Linked DNA regions of Homo sapiens: all the other regions are linked to region 3. The links are contacts of gene promoters, found by promoter capture Hi-C in blood cells and fetal thymus (Javierre and others, 2016). All regions are on one chromosome and are shown on one strand. The core of a region is centred on a gene start or on the middle of the fragment in contact, and the rest is flanking DNA. Distances in the headings are between cores, read along the strand shown. Region 1 holds the start of ZBED4 (zinc finger BED-type containing 4). Region 2 overlaps BRD1 (bromodomain containing 1). Region 3 holds the start of IL17REL (interleukin 17 receptor E like). Region 4 overlaps BRD1 (bromodomain containing 1).

Region 1 (2,886 bases), core at 300-2,799, 160 kb before region 3:
GTCCCGGAAACCCGCGGTGGGCCGTTGGGTGCGCGCCGAGCCGCTGCCAACTGCCAAGCCACGGGACGAAACCAAGGCGCCCGCGCCCCGCCCAGCCAGAGCGCCTAAGCCCTTCCCGTCGCCCGCCAGCGCCGGAGCGCCCACTGCGCCTGCGTAGTTTGCCCTCCTGGACCCGGGGGCGGAGCCGAAGCGCGCATTGCGCCTGCGTCTTCCGCCCGACCCCGCCCCAGCGGCCGGGCCTCCGGCGCTCCGTCCTCCCGCCCGGCCAGGGACGAGGCGGGGCGGGTACGCGGACACTGCGCCTGCGAGAGTAGGCCCCGCCCCCGATCGGCCCCGCCCCCGGCCAGCCCCGCCCCGCGCCGCGCGGGGCCCTGGGAGGGGCGCAGCGTCCGGCGGCGTCGCGGGCGGCGGGCGGCGGGGCCGCGGGAGGGGCGCGGGGGCAGACAAAGCCGCGGTAATGAATGGAGCGTCCGCCCGCGCCGCCGTCGTCCGCAGCCGGCCGGGAGCCGCCCCAGAGGCCGGGCCGAGGTGAGTGCGCGGGCGCCGCCGCCCCGCCGCCTGCCGCGAGCCCCGTCCCCCGCGGACCGCGCCGGGGCCGGGCCGGGCCGCGCCATTGTCTGCGCCGCGCCGGGGCCAGGGCCGGGGCCAGGCGGGCGGGGGCGCGGTTCCGTGGCCTCGGGGTCCCCGCCCGGCGCCGCCCCGGACCCGCCCCCGCGCGGACCCCGGCCCTGACAGCTGGCGCGGGGGCGGCGCCGACTGAGCGGCCGAGTGCCGGGGGTCGGCGCCCGGCCTGGCCCACGTGCCCGCGCCGTTGCTTCCGGGCGGACGGGACGGGGCTCGGGCTCGGGGCGCCGCCCGGGTCCGCCGGGAGCGCGCTGTCCCGGCCACGTCGAGTTAACCCCGCGAGCCCCGTCCCTGGGACTTCTCTGGACGTGTCATTCCCGTCCCACCTCCAGGAAGGGCCACCTGGGCCCTGCTTCATGTCTCAGCCCAGACGGGTCCTTGCGACGCGCCCCGAGGCAGGTTATTGTACGTGGTTCTGGGGATGACCGTTCACATTTAATGAATAAAAATGTAACTTGCCTTGCGAACCATAATTTCAAATGTTTTTCGACTGCAGTGGTTTTCCTACACCCAAATGAGCTCGCAGTCAGTTTTGTTTCTTCTTTTGTCCCGTTGTGTGGCCCACACCGCCTTCGTTGCTAAGAGAATCGCAGCCCCTCGGGCTCCCTTCTGCGCCTTTCTATTCCGGGTGGCCCTGGTAGACCCGGGCACCTCTGTGGAAACACGTCCCGGCCAAGCTGAGCCGTCAGAAGCTTCTGTTGGTGTTCTCGTGTTGGTCGAAAGGGAAGTTATTTATTTTGAAGTTAACTCTGATCAGATTACGTTTTTAGAAATCCATTCAGACCTCATAGTGAGGCCAGTTTGGTAAAGCAAGGGCATCCTGCGACTTTTTACACAGAAATGTTTTTTATTTTTTCTGTGTATGTCATTCATAGTGACAAAATTGAGGCTAGGAAGGATTTGGTTGGGATTTTTTTTTAAGTGCTATGAATAAGCCACATTTTGATTATGAATTAATTGCAATTACTAAACAAAGTTACTTTGCAAGAGGAAAGTTTACAGGAGTTTGATTCCATACTCCGAGGGTTTCCAATGGGACGTCCGTACAAGGCTGCACACTTCCCGTAGTCCTTAAACGGATTATATCTGCTTGTCATGATTGGCTTTTTTTCAAGAAAAGATCTAGCACAAGTTAAGAGAGATTCTGTGAATCTTGAAAAAGCTTCAGAGGCCCGGTCTTTGAGGTGAGGACACAGTTAATCTATATGGAAAGAAACCTAAGACTTTTAGTCCACTTGACAGGTGGTTACAGGGTCTCCCCCAACACACACTCTTGTCCAGGTAATTCCTGAATAAGGTGGTTGATGTTGTTGGATGTAAAACCTCTGCTCTTTAAGGTTACCTCCTCCCCAACCCCCTCCACACACACAGTGAGTAACTCAGCTGTGCAAAGTATGTCCATAACACCTTGCAGAAAGACTAAAAAAATTACTAGGGGAGCGGACTGACTTCTGTGTGTGTGCAGAGGAGCTGAGAAGCAGCTTCTTTAGCGAAAGGTGTGTGTGTGTGTGTGTCTCAGATCCTTGGTGAGGAGCCCTGGGGAGTGGACTCCTGGCGGCATGAGGAGCAGGAAGTGACCGTGGTCAGTGCCGTCCTTCACTTTGTTTTGCGTTTTTTTCTTTGCCTGGCTTTAGCTTCTGGTCTCATTCTCTTTGGTGTGGTGGTTGTCTTTTGAGAGGAGGGAGCAGGTGAAACAGCTGGGCGTGGCTTTGCCCAGCCCTGGGGTAGAGGCCAAGCTGGCCCTTCCTTACCAACGTTGTTTCCTTCACTGTTTAAATCTCAGGACCTGAGAATGTACCTATAGGAATTGCTCTTATTTACATTTGGCTGTGTAAGAAAGTCACTGTGCCTTTAGCCCGTGACACCCCTTAGCGGTTTGGTTTTGGCTTTCTCTTTTAGTGTCTGTGGATTCCAGCAGCTCTCTGGCTTCAGCCCTTTCAAGGATTCGGGCCTCTCTGCATCCCAGCCTTCCAGGCCCTTCTGCTCCCCACTTTTTAGCACCTAGGTTTTTCTACATTCTGCAGTACCTCAGATCCCTTCCTTGGTCATCACTGGATATGTGCTTTTGTAGTTCAAATTCTGGGAGGCATTGTTAGGAATAAAATAAGCTCTTTGCCATTTCTGAGGCGGAGGGGAGCAGGAGAGACAGAGGTGCTTGCCTCTCTGCCTGCTGGGGCCATGGTGGTTTTCAAAGAAGGCCCTGGCCGTAGGGAACATGGTGGTGGTGAGGAGCAGCGTAAACCAGAGAAAAAGGCTCAGTAA
Region 2 (3,065 bases), core at 163-2,662, 200 kb before region 3:
CAACCACAGAAAGCAGTCCCTGAGGGCTGGGTGGACTGAGATGCCGGCAATACGGGCAAGATGAAGGAGGCCTGGGGGCAGCAGCCGCAATGCCCACCTCAGGGATGACTGCAGACAAGTCAGAACCCACACTAGGAGCCGGGCGCGGTAGCTCACGCCTATAATCCCAGCACTTTGGGAGGCCGAGGCGGGCGGATCACCTGAGGTCAGCAGTTCGTGACCAGCCTGGCCAACATGGTGAAACCCCGTCGCTACTAAAAATACAAAAATTAGCCGGGTGTGGTGGTGCGTGCCTACAATCCCAGCTACTCGGGAGGCTGAGGTGGGAGAATCGCTTGAGCCCGGGAAGCGGACGTTGCAATGAGCCAAGATCGCACCATTGCACTCCAGCCTGAGGAACAAGAGCGAGACTTTGTCTCAAAAAAAAAAAAAAAAGAACCCACACCAGGGAAAAGAACCCCGGAAATGAGGGAGGTCACCAGAGTTCCAACATCAAGTATTCCTTGGATTTTTGTTAAGCCCAGTCTACATGCTGACACATAAATACTTTACCATGGGACCCACTAAATGCACTAGGGAACGTATGGATAGGAAGACCAATATTGTTAAGATGTCAATACCACCGAAAGTGATCTACAGATCCAATGCAATTCCTATCAAAATACCAATGATGTCTTTTGCAGAAATAGGAAAATCCACCCTAAAATTCATATGGAAACTCAAGGAACACCCAACAGCCAAATCACCTTGAAAAAGCTGTAAAAGTCACGCTTCCTGACTTCAGAACTTACCACAAAGCTACGGTCATCAAAACAGTGCGGTGCTGACGAAAGGACACACATATAGACCATGGGAATAGCAGAGAACCCTGAAGCGAACCCTCCCGTATCCAGCAGAGACTGTTGACAAGGGTGCCAAGACCATTCAGAGGGGAAAAGACAGTCTTTTCAGCAGATGGCACCAGGACAAGTGGATATGGCCATGCAAAAGAATGTGAAGTTGGACCTTGCCTCATTTCACACACAAAAATTAACTCAAAATCGAAGACCTAGACATAAGACCTAAAACTATAAATCTCTTAAAACAGAAGGGAAAAGCTTCATGACACTGGATTTGGCAATGATTTCTTGAATAAGACACCAAAGGCACAGGAAACAAAAAGAAAAAATAAACTGGGCTTCATGAAAAATGTTAAAATGTGTGCATTAAAAGACACACAGCAGAGTGAATGGGAGGAAATATTTTCAAATCACGTATCTGAAATGGGATTAATATCCAGAAACTCCTAAAACTTGACAAAAAATAATCCAATTCAAAACTGGTTAAAATACTCAAATAGACAATTCTTCAAAAGTGCAAATGCTCAATAAACACAGAAATGCAAATCCAAACTATGATGTCACCTTCACACCTATTAGAATGGCTATCAAAAAATACTAACAAAAAACAAAAAAAAAATGTTGGTAAGGATGTGGAAACCCTGAACCCTTGCGCACCGCCGGCAAGAACGTAAAAAGGTGTAGCCGCTGTGGAAAACAGTGTTGTGGCTCCTCAAACACTTAAAGACAGAAATGCCGTGTGACCTGGCAATCCCACTTCCGGGTATACACCCAAAAGAACTGAAAACAGGCTCAGATACTTATCACCCATGTTCTTCACAGCATTATTCACGATGGCTAAAACATGGAAGCAACCCAAGAGCCCATGGAGGAAGGAATGGGTAAGCAAAAGCTTATCTCCACATACAGAGGGTTATTCAGCCTTAAAAGGCAAGGAAGTTCCAATGCATGCAATGACATGGAAAAGCCTTGAAAATGTGCTCAGTGCAATAAGCCAGACACAAAAAGACAAATACTGCCTGATTGCGCTTATGTGAGGGACTGAAGAGGAGTCAAATTCATGGAGACAGGGAGTAGAACGGTGAACGCCCGCAGCCAGGGAGGGAGGAATGGGGAGTTCCTGTTTAACTGGGACAGAGTTTCAGACTGGGAAGACAAAAAGGCTCTGAAGATAGATGGTGGTGATGGCTGCACAGCAACAGCAATATCAAAGTGCTTCATGCCCCTGAGCTATACACTTACAATGATTAAGATGGTACATTTTATGTTATGTGTACGTGACCACAGTAAAATACTGAAAAAACTTGAATACAGAGAGTTAAATGGAATGTGCACCTTCCAAATGAGTAGAGGAGGAAAAATGCCCCCGACTCCAAAACAGCAAAACCATCTGAGTCAATACATCAGAAGAAAAAGTGAGCCGGGCGCAGTGGCTTCCGCCTGTAATCCCAGCACTTTTGGAAGCCGAGGCAGGCAGATCATGAGGTCAGGAGTTCAAGACCAGCCTGGCCAACATGGTGAAACCCCATCTCTACTAAAAATACAAAAAAATTAGCCAGGCATGATGGCACACGCCCGTAATCCTAGCTATTCAGGAGACTGAGGCAGGAGAACTGCTTGAACCCGGGAGGAAGACATTACAGTGAGCCGAGATCACACCACTGCACTCCAGCCTGGGCAACATAGCAAGACTCAGTCTCAGAGGAAAAATAAAGAAAAAGGGAAAAAAAGGATCATGGAAACAAATCCAAAATAGATCAGTAATCCAACATAAGTCAACAGTCTAAAGTTGCTAATGAAGAGGTTGTCAATCTGGTTAAAAATTTAAAATTCCAGTTTTAGGCCAGGTGCAGTGGCTCACGCCTGTAATCCCAGCACTTTGGGAGGCCGAAGCAGGTGGATCATGAGGTCAGGAGTTCAAGACCAGCCTAGCCAAGATGGTGAAACCTCGTCTCTACTAAAAATACAAAAATTAGCCAGGCGTGGTGACAGGTGCCTGTAATCCCAGCTACTTGGAAGGCTTGAGGCAGGAGAATCGCTTGAACACGGGAGGCGGAGGTTGTAGTGAGCCGAGATCGCGCCACTGCACTCCAGCCTGGGTGACGGAATGAGACTTCGTCTCCAAAAAAAATATATATATATATATATATGTAATTCCAGTTTTAAAATACCACAGCAAGGCTGAAGCTGGACATAAGGAAAATGTTCAGGTGTACATTAAGGAGC
Region 3 (2,888 bases), core at 145-2,644:
GTCCTAGCGTGGACAGCGCGGTCACACCTCGGACCGGGAGGCTGCCTGCATACCCCGCAGCCGCCTCAGCAAAGCTTTCCAGCTTGCACTTCAAGGCCGCCTCCCCCCATGTCTCCCAACTCAGGGACCATTTCCTCCCAGAGGCAAAAGTCGATTCTGAGGTCTCATCTCTCGCTTCTCCTTCCCCCTCCTAGCCAGGATCCCCAGGCCTGCCCCCTCCCTGTTTTCCATCTCCACTGCAGGGTGGCATCCGGTGGACACCCCTCCCACCTGAACCCGCCCATCTCCCCTGCTGCCACCGGTTCCCACGCATCCCAGCCTGCTTTCTTCCTTGTTCCACGAATGCCCTGTGGATCTGAGCCTGCCCATGGCACCCAGCACTCCAGCCCTTGCTGCTCCCCTCCCTGAGCTGAGCCCTCTGCTGGACCCGTCTCAGGCCCTGTGGAGCTGCTGGATGTCCCCGCAAGTGTCCCCTGAGGTGACCAGGCCACCACCCTAAAGGCACATCTTGCTAACTGCTGTCCCCATGCCAGGAACGGTGCACCCAGCAGGTCCTCAGTGAGTCCTCCCTTTCCGGGACACCTTCTGTGCCCTTTCCATGCCTGTGTCCCCACTGTGCCCGGCCAGCCTTGGGCACCGGGGCCCCTTCCTGGGATGCTGGGTACACTTCCTGCTGCAGGTGCTGATGAAGCGCCCTCTCCTGTAAGGCTGAGTGAGTGGGCTGTGCAGTGAGAGCCCTCCACCCCAACCCAGCCACCTCCACTGCCAACATCTCATTCTCAGCACGTTCTCCGAGTGTTTCCTTGGCAGGTGTCTACACAAGCCCAGGTGTTGCGGGCTCCCGATGGCTCAGAGCAGCCGAGCGGGGTGGGGTGGGAGCCCCGGATGGGCTTGCGGGCTGCCCTAGATTCTAACACAGCCTCCTTGGAGGTCACAGGTGGGTCCGAGGTGGGCTCACCCTGCCTTGAGCTTCCAGCAAACACTTCCCGGAGCAGCTCGGCAGGGTCAGGCCAGGTCTCCCATCCTTCTTTCACCAGCGCTGCCCTCGGACCCCCCAGGGCCCTGCAACCCCTCACCTGCTGATGTGCTGAGAGCGTCAGGCCAGACCCACCTGAGGAGAAACCAGGGCCTTATCTGCCACAGTGTAGGGGCCTAGGAGGAGGCAGGAGCTTACCTGAGAACAGGAGAGGCCACATTCTGTAATCCGGGGGATGGCCAGGCTCTGGAAAGTGCCCCAGGTCAGGCCCAAGAACGCGAGTGCTTGCCCAGCCAGCATCTGGCTGTGCAGTGAGAGCTCCCACTGGTAAGCGTGGATGTGAGTGGGGCAAGTTTGCAGGATGCCCTGTGGCAGCGGCTCCAGGCTGACCCTGCAGCTCCAGCCCCAAAGACAAACAGAGGGTGGAGGCTGCTCTTCACAGCTGGAGCGAGCGAGACACTCCCCCTCCCGGCAAAACAGGGCTCGCTTCACAGACAGCAGCCCGGGAGACTTTCCACCGCCTGGGGCCAGAAGACTGTGGCCAGACACTTGTGGAGTTTCTAGGTTTCCAAAGGAAGCATCCAGAAACCTTGGGGCCTTTGGGGTCCGAGGACACCCTAATGGGGTTCCCCACAGGGCGGCCACTGGTGCAGAGATGGCTCCAGGCCGGCGGGATAGGCTGCCGCCGGCGTGCACCTCCCTCAGGCATGCATGAGGCCAGGAGGGTAGACAAGGGCCCTGGAAAGCTGGCTGGGCTGGCAGAGGGGTGGAATCTGTCCTGGGCACTCATACCCCAGAGCCCCTGGCTTCAGCCCCAGCCCCTAAGGGGAGCCCTCTCCTAAGACCTGAGATTCCACCCAAGTCCCTGGCCTCCACCTCCCCTCAAGATGCAAAAGGCCACCTCCCCTGTGTGGTCCTCCCTATGAGCCCCCCCCCACTCCGGAGGGCACCCCCCGAGGCTGGGAACTCTGGGGCCCAGCCTCTGCTCAGGGAGCCGTTCTGTGTCATCTTCTTATTTGGAGCATCAAATGCATAGGAAAGTTTCTGGGCAGAAGCTTACTGCTTCCCATTTGCCTCCAGCCAGGGCAGGGGGTTGGAGAGAACCAGGGTGCAGTTCTTGGGTCCTCCTGGCTCCTCCCTTCCTGGACAGGCACAGAGGCTTCTGCACCTGCCTCAGGTTCTGGGAGGGCACTGCCCCACGTGTGTGTGTGTGTGTGTGTGTGTGTGTGTGTGTGTGTGTGTGTGTGTGTCTGTGTGTGTGTGGGGGGGGGATGGCGGGAGTTAATAGCTGGGGAGCCTGGGAGTGTCTAGCTGGGGTGTTCTGCCTGGAATACCCACAGGACACCCCAAGTGTGGAGGGCGGCACCACCCCCAGGCTGGGAGAGGCTGTGGGCCTCACACTGTGGGCTCGGGTAGTCAGGAGGGAGCTTGAGAAACAAGCTCTGGGGTTCGGTCCCAGGGGAGGGAAGGCGGCAGGGGCTGCTGTGACCGTGAAGTCCTCCCTCCCTCCCACCACCCCGCACTGCCCACCTCCCTGCCTCCTGGGCCAGCACCTCGACCCTGCCCCCGCCTGGCCTAGAGCCCTCCATGGGCTGGAACTTATGCACTCACTGCTGGGCAGAGTAGATGGGGCTGAGCCCGCCCCCTGCAGCAGCGTGCCTGTGGCCACAATGCCCTGGAGAGAGTGGCTAGTGCCAGCCTCCATGCCACGGCATGGTCAGCAGCAGGCAGGCACATTTGGGGGTGGCTCAGGACGGGCCACTGTCATCCCCTATCCCAGGCTGGCTGAGCTGTAAGACAGATACTCCAGCTGGGCCTCGCCCCTCAGCCTGGCCTCCAGCCCTCCTTATACCAGGGGACGATGGGGGCTGCTGTACTGTGGCAGGGGTGTCCCAGACGATGTCCATGGGCA
Region 4 (2,853 bases), core at 146-2,645, 240 kb before region 3:
ATTTATACAATGCAATGCATTCTGCTCCCAAGCCAAGTTGAATTTTTATGTGCCTGTATAAAAATGCATATCAATATACCTTTGCAAATGTATTTTTCATTATAAAGCAAATGAATACACTTTCTACAATAAATAATCCGCTGGGAGGCACACCTGCGGGGTTTGAGGTGGGCGGGACGACGGGAGCGGGGACACACCCACCGGCGGTCACGGGCAGCGGAGTGTTTTTGGTGATCTGCAAGTGATGTACACAGCATAACTTTATTCTCCCCTCTTTCCACAAAGTACCATTCAAAATAATGTCATTTTCTTTCTTAAAATACACATTTGTCATTGTAAATTTACATCCCGTCTTATTAAATAAGTGGTACTCTGTGTAAAGAGCATGATTTACAAAATTATTAAACATTCAAAAGTCTTTAAGAAAAAGCTACATATCAAAGAAAGTGACGCCAGCAGCACGGCCTGGGGACGTGCGACAGACGCACTGGGCTGCCCGGACGTGCCCACCCCACTCACAGCGCCCAGACGGAGATGGGTTCCTAGAAAACTTGGAAATAAAACCTCCCCCCTCCCCGGGGAAAAAGAATTAAAGAGCTATAACTAAAAATCAGAATAAGTTAAGTTTTGAACAATATACAAACATGTACAGCTTATCAACACTATGGACAAGACCCGCGCTGGCGGCCGGGCCGTCAGTCAATGTCACTGAGGTCGCTGGTCGGCTCCCCGTGGACGCGGCTCAGGTGGTTCATGGCGCGGTCAAAAGCGATCCGCACGGCCTTCCGGATGCTGGAATTCCTCCCTTCCATCATCTTTAACTTGTCTATAGTTTCGTCAATACCAAGGGGAACCATTTTGGACTTAGGAAGCCACTGCCTTTTTAAAAGGAAAAACAAGCGGAAAATCATTGCTTGCACATGGTATTTCAGCAGGCTCCATGTAATCATCTAACAAATTCACTGCCCTCCGATAGAAAGGGGCCCTGCTCAGCACCACCAAGACAGCTGGGCCCCGTGCAGGGACAGGCCCGAGGCCAGGAGTGCACCCCTCCCTTCCCCTCCCCGACTTGGGGATACGGGGAGCTAAGTAAGGCATAAAAACCATCACCTCCTCCTCCACCTCCAAAACGTTTCCCAGTGCCTGCTTAGTGACAAGACATGCACACACCAAGCCCAGAGTCAGGGTGGGCCCTGGAGCAGAGGCCGGTGGTTGGGGAGACCCCATCAAAGGGGCCCTCGGATGGACAAGGTGTGGGCCTCGCTCAAGGCCTGACAAGAAGCAGTGGCCACGTGGCCAAAGAGGCAGAGGTCGAGGCAAGGAAGAGAAAGACGGTAGGGATGCCTGTGCTGCCAGTCCTGCTCCAGGCACACCATAGGCAGGTGGCCCCGAGCCCCTGCGCCAGGTCCCAAGTGCAGCCAGCTCCACGGGGAACCAGGAAGCACCTGCCCGGGCCACGTGCGCAGGGCACAGCCGGGGCCACAGCTCCTCCCAGAGGCATGTGCTGCCAGCGTGTCCTGCACAGAGGGATCTTGGGGTCTAAACCCTGGCACATGAGGGTCCCAGACGCTCTGGGGAAAAGCAGCTCAGGGCACAGGGGGAGCCTCCTGTGATGGGGTGGATGTCTGAGCAGAGCTGGATGATGCTGGGACAGAAGGCTCTAAGAACAGGGCCAGAGGCCAGGCCCGGGCAGGGGCCATGTCCTGCAGTACAGGGGTCCGGGAGCACAGCAGAGGGACCCCCAACACTGGAGCGGACACATGGGTAAGGAGTAGGGAAGAGACAGTCCAGACCAATGGGGCTCAGGCGAGAGGGAGAGGAAGCCATCGGGCAGAGACAGACCCGGTGCTCAGTGCCCGTCCCACAGTCCCGGCGAGGGGGCTGGGCAGTGCCCTTCTCCACCAGGCAAACAGCGGAGCACTCACCTCCGACTTTAGCTGTGCCAGGGCCCAGCAGACAAAGACGCTGCTCACCACAGGGACACTCAGGTCACCGAGCCCACGGCCCCCAACCACCCCAGCCGGTCCCCGGAGTCTAAGGCCTCTCAACTCACCAACTTCTCTTATTATCAAAAAAGAGAACGAGGAACAGCTTCTCATCAGACTTGGTCTGCATGTGCTCCCCAATCTTCAGCACGTCCAGGGGTGGGGCCGGGATGGTGACGCCGTTGTGGTGGCCAGGCACACGGGGCATCTTGGGGTCGATGATCTGCACGAGAAGGACCCGCTGAGGTCATTGTGAGGCTCACACCCATAAACAACCCCACCTGTCACTGGCACCCCCCCCCGCCTCCCCACCCCAGCTGTGTGAGCCTCCTCAGACCACCCCCACGCCCCCCTCGCCGAACCACCCCTGCCCCTTCCAGCTGTGTGAACCTCCTCTGACCAACCCCGCCCCCCCGCCAGCTGTGGAACCTCCTTGGACCACCGCCGTGAGCCTCCTCGGACCACCCCCGCCCCGCAGCTGTGTGAGCCTCCTCTGGACCCGCAGGCGCCACGAGAGCCGTACTCACCAGTGCCGGGTAGGAGGGGTAGCCGCTGCACTTGGCCCACACCACCTTCAGAGGCTCCAGCACCGAGGCGGCGGCATCAGTGGAGATCCACATGCTGCTCTGGCCGACTTCTGCGGAGAGGGGCGTCAGCAGGACACAGGCGTCAGCAGGACACGGGGCACGCCCCGCCCCCCCACAAAAGGTGCAGCAACAGGGTGGGTCCCCCGAGCACAGCCCAGCTCCCAGGCCTTTCTCAGCCACCCCGGCAGCACCACTGCCTCCCCTGTGGGGTCCAGGCCCTTGCATCCCCACTGTCCCTGCAGCCCACCTGGGGCCACCAGCCTCCCACGGACCCAGGGAAG

The links. Contacts are between HindIII fragments. The CHiCAGO score rates a contact against its expected background, and 5 or more counts as called.
Region 1: a contact is called between a fragment that was not itself captured here and the fragment with the promoter of IL17REL in region 3, in 1 of 17 cell types (activated CD4 T cells). The highest score is 5.3, in activated CD4 T cells.
Region 2: a contact is called between a fragment that was not itself captured here and the fragment with the promoter of IL17REL in region 3, in 1 of 17 cell types (activated CD4 T cells). The highest score is 5.5, in activated CD4 T cells.
Region 4: a fragment that was not itself captured here is called in contact with the fragment with the promoter of IL17REL in region 3 in 1 of 17 cell types (non-activated CD4 T cells); the score reaches 5.0 in non-activated CD4 T cells.

What each region holds. Positions count from the first base shown.
Region 1 is chr22:49,853,462-49,856,347 of GRCh38, forward strand. ZBED4 (zinc finger BED-type containing 4) reads left to right here and starts at 383. Exons shown (of 2, transcript NM_014838.3): 1 at 383-528. LOC124905147 (a long non-coding RNA gene) reads right to left here. Exons shown (of 2, transcript XR_007068156.1): 2 at 1,041-1,825. It overlaps LOC105377205 (a long non-coding RNA gene), which reads right to left and starts at 51. Exons shown (of 5, transcript NR_188597.1): 1 at 1-51. RefSeq lists silencers at 1-570, 741-1,030. The HindIII fragment of the contact is 470 bases long and covers 1,315-1,784 here.
Region 2 is chr22:49,806,580-49,809,644 of GRCh38, forward strand. The region is part of intron 2 of BRD1 (bromodomain containing 1); the gene reads right to left. Among named protein-coding and RNA genes, the nearest start is that of BRD1, 20 kb to the right of the region's middle. The HindIII fragment of the contact is 634 bases long and covers 1,096-1,729 here.
Region 3 is chr22:50,011,371-50,014,258 of GRCh38, forward strand. IL17REL (interleukin 17 receptor E like) reads right to left here and starts at 1,395. Exons shown (of 15, transcript NM_001371417.1): 1 at 1,175-1,395. The coding sequence starts at 1,276. RefSeq lists an enhancer at 1,280-1,880. The HindIII fragment of the contact is 1,957 bases long and covers 73-2,029 here.
Region 4 is chr22:49,773,538-49,776,390 of GRCh38, forward strand. BRD1 (bromodomain containing 1) reads right to left here. Exons shown (of 13, transcript NM_001304808.3): 11 at 2,513-2,622; 12 at 2,054-2,208; 13 at 1-879. The coding sequence ends at 696. Among named protein-coding and RNA genes, the nearest start is that of BRD1, 53 kb to the right of the region's middle. The HindIII fragment of the contact is 4,454 bases long and covers 1-2,853 here.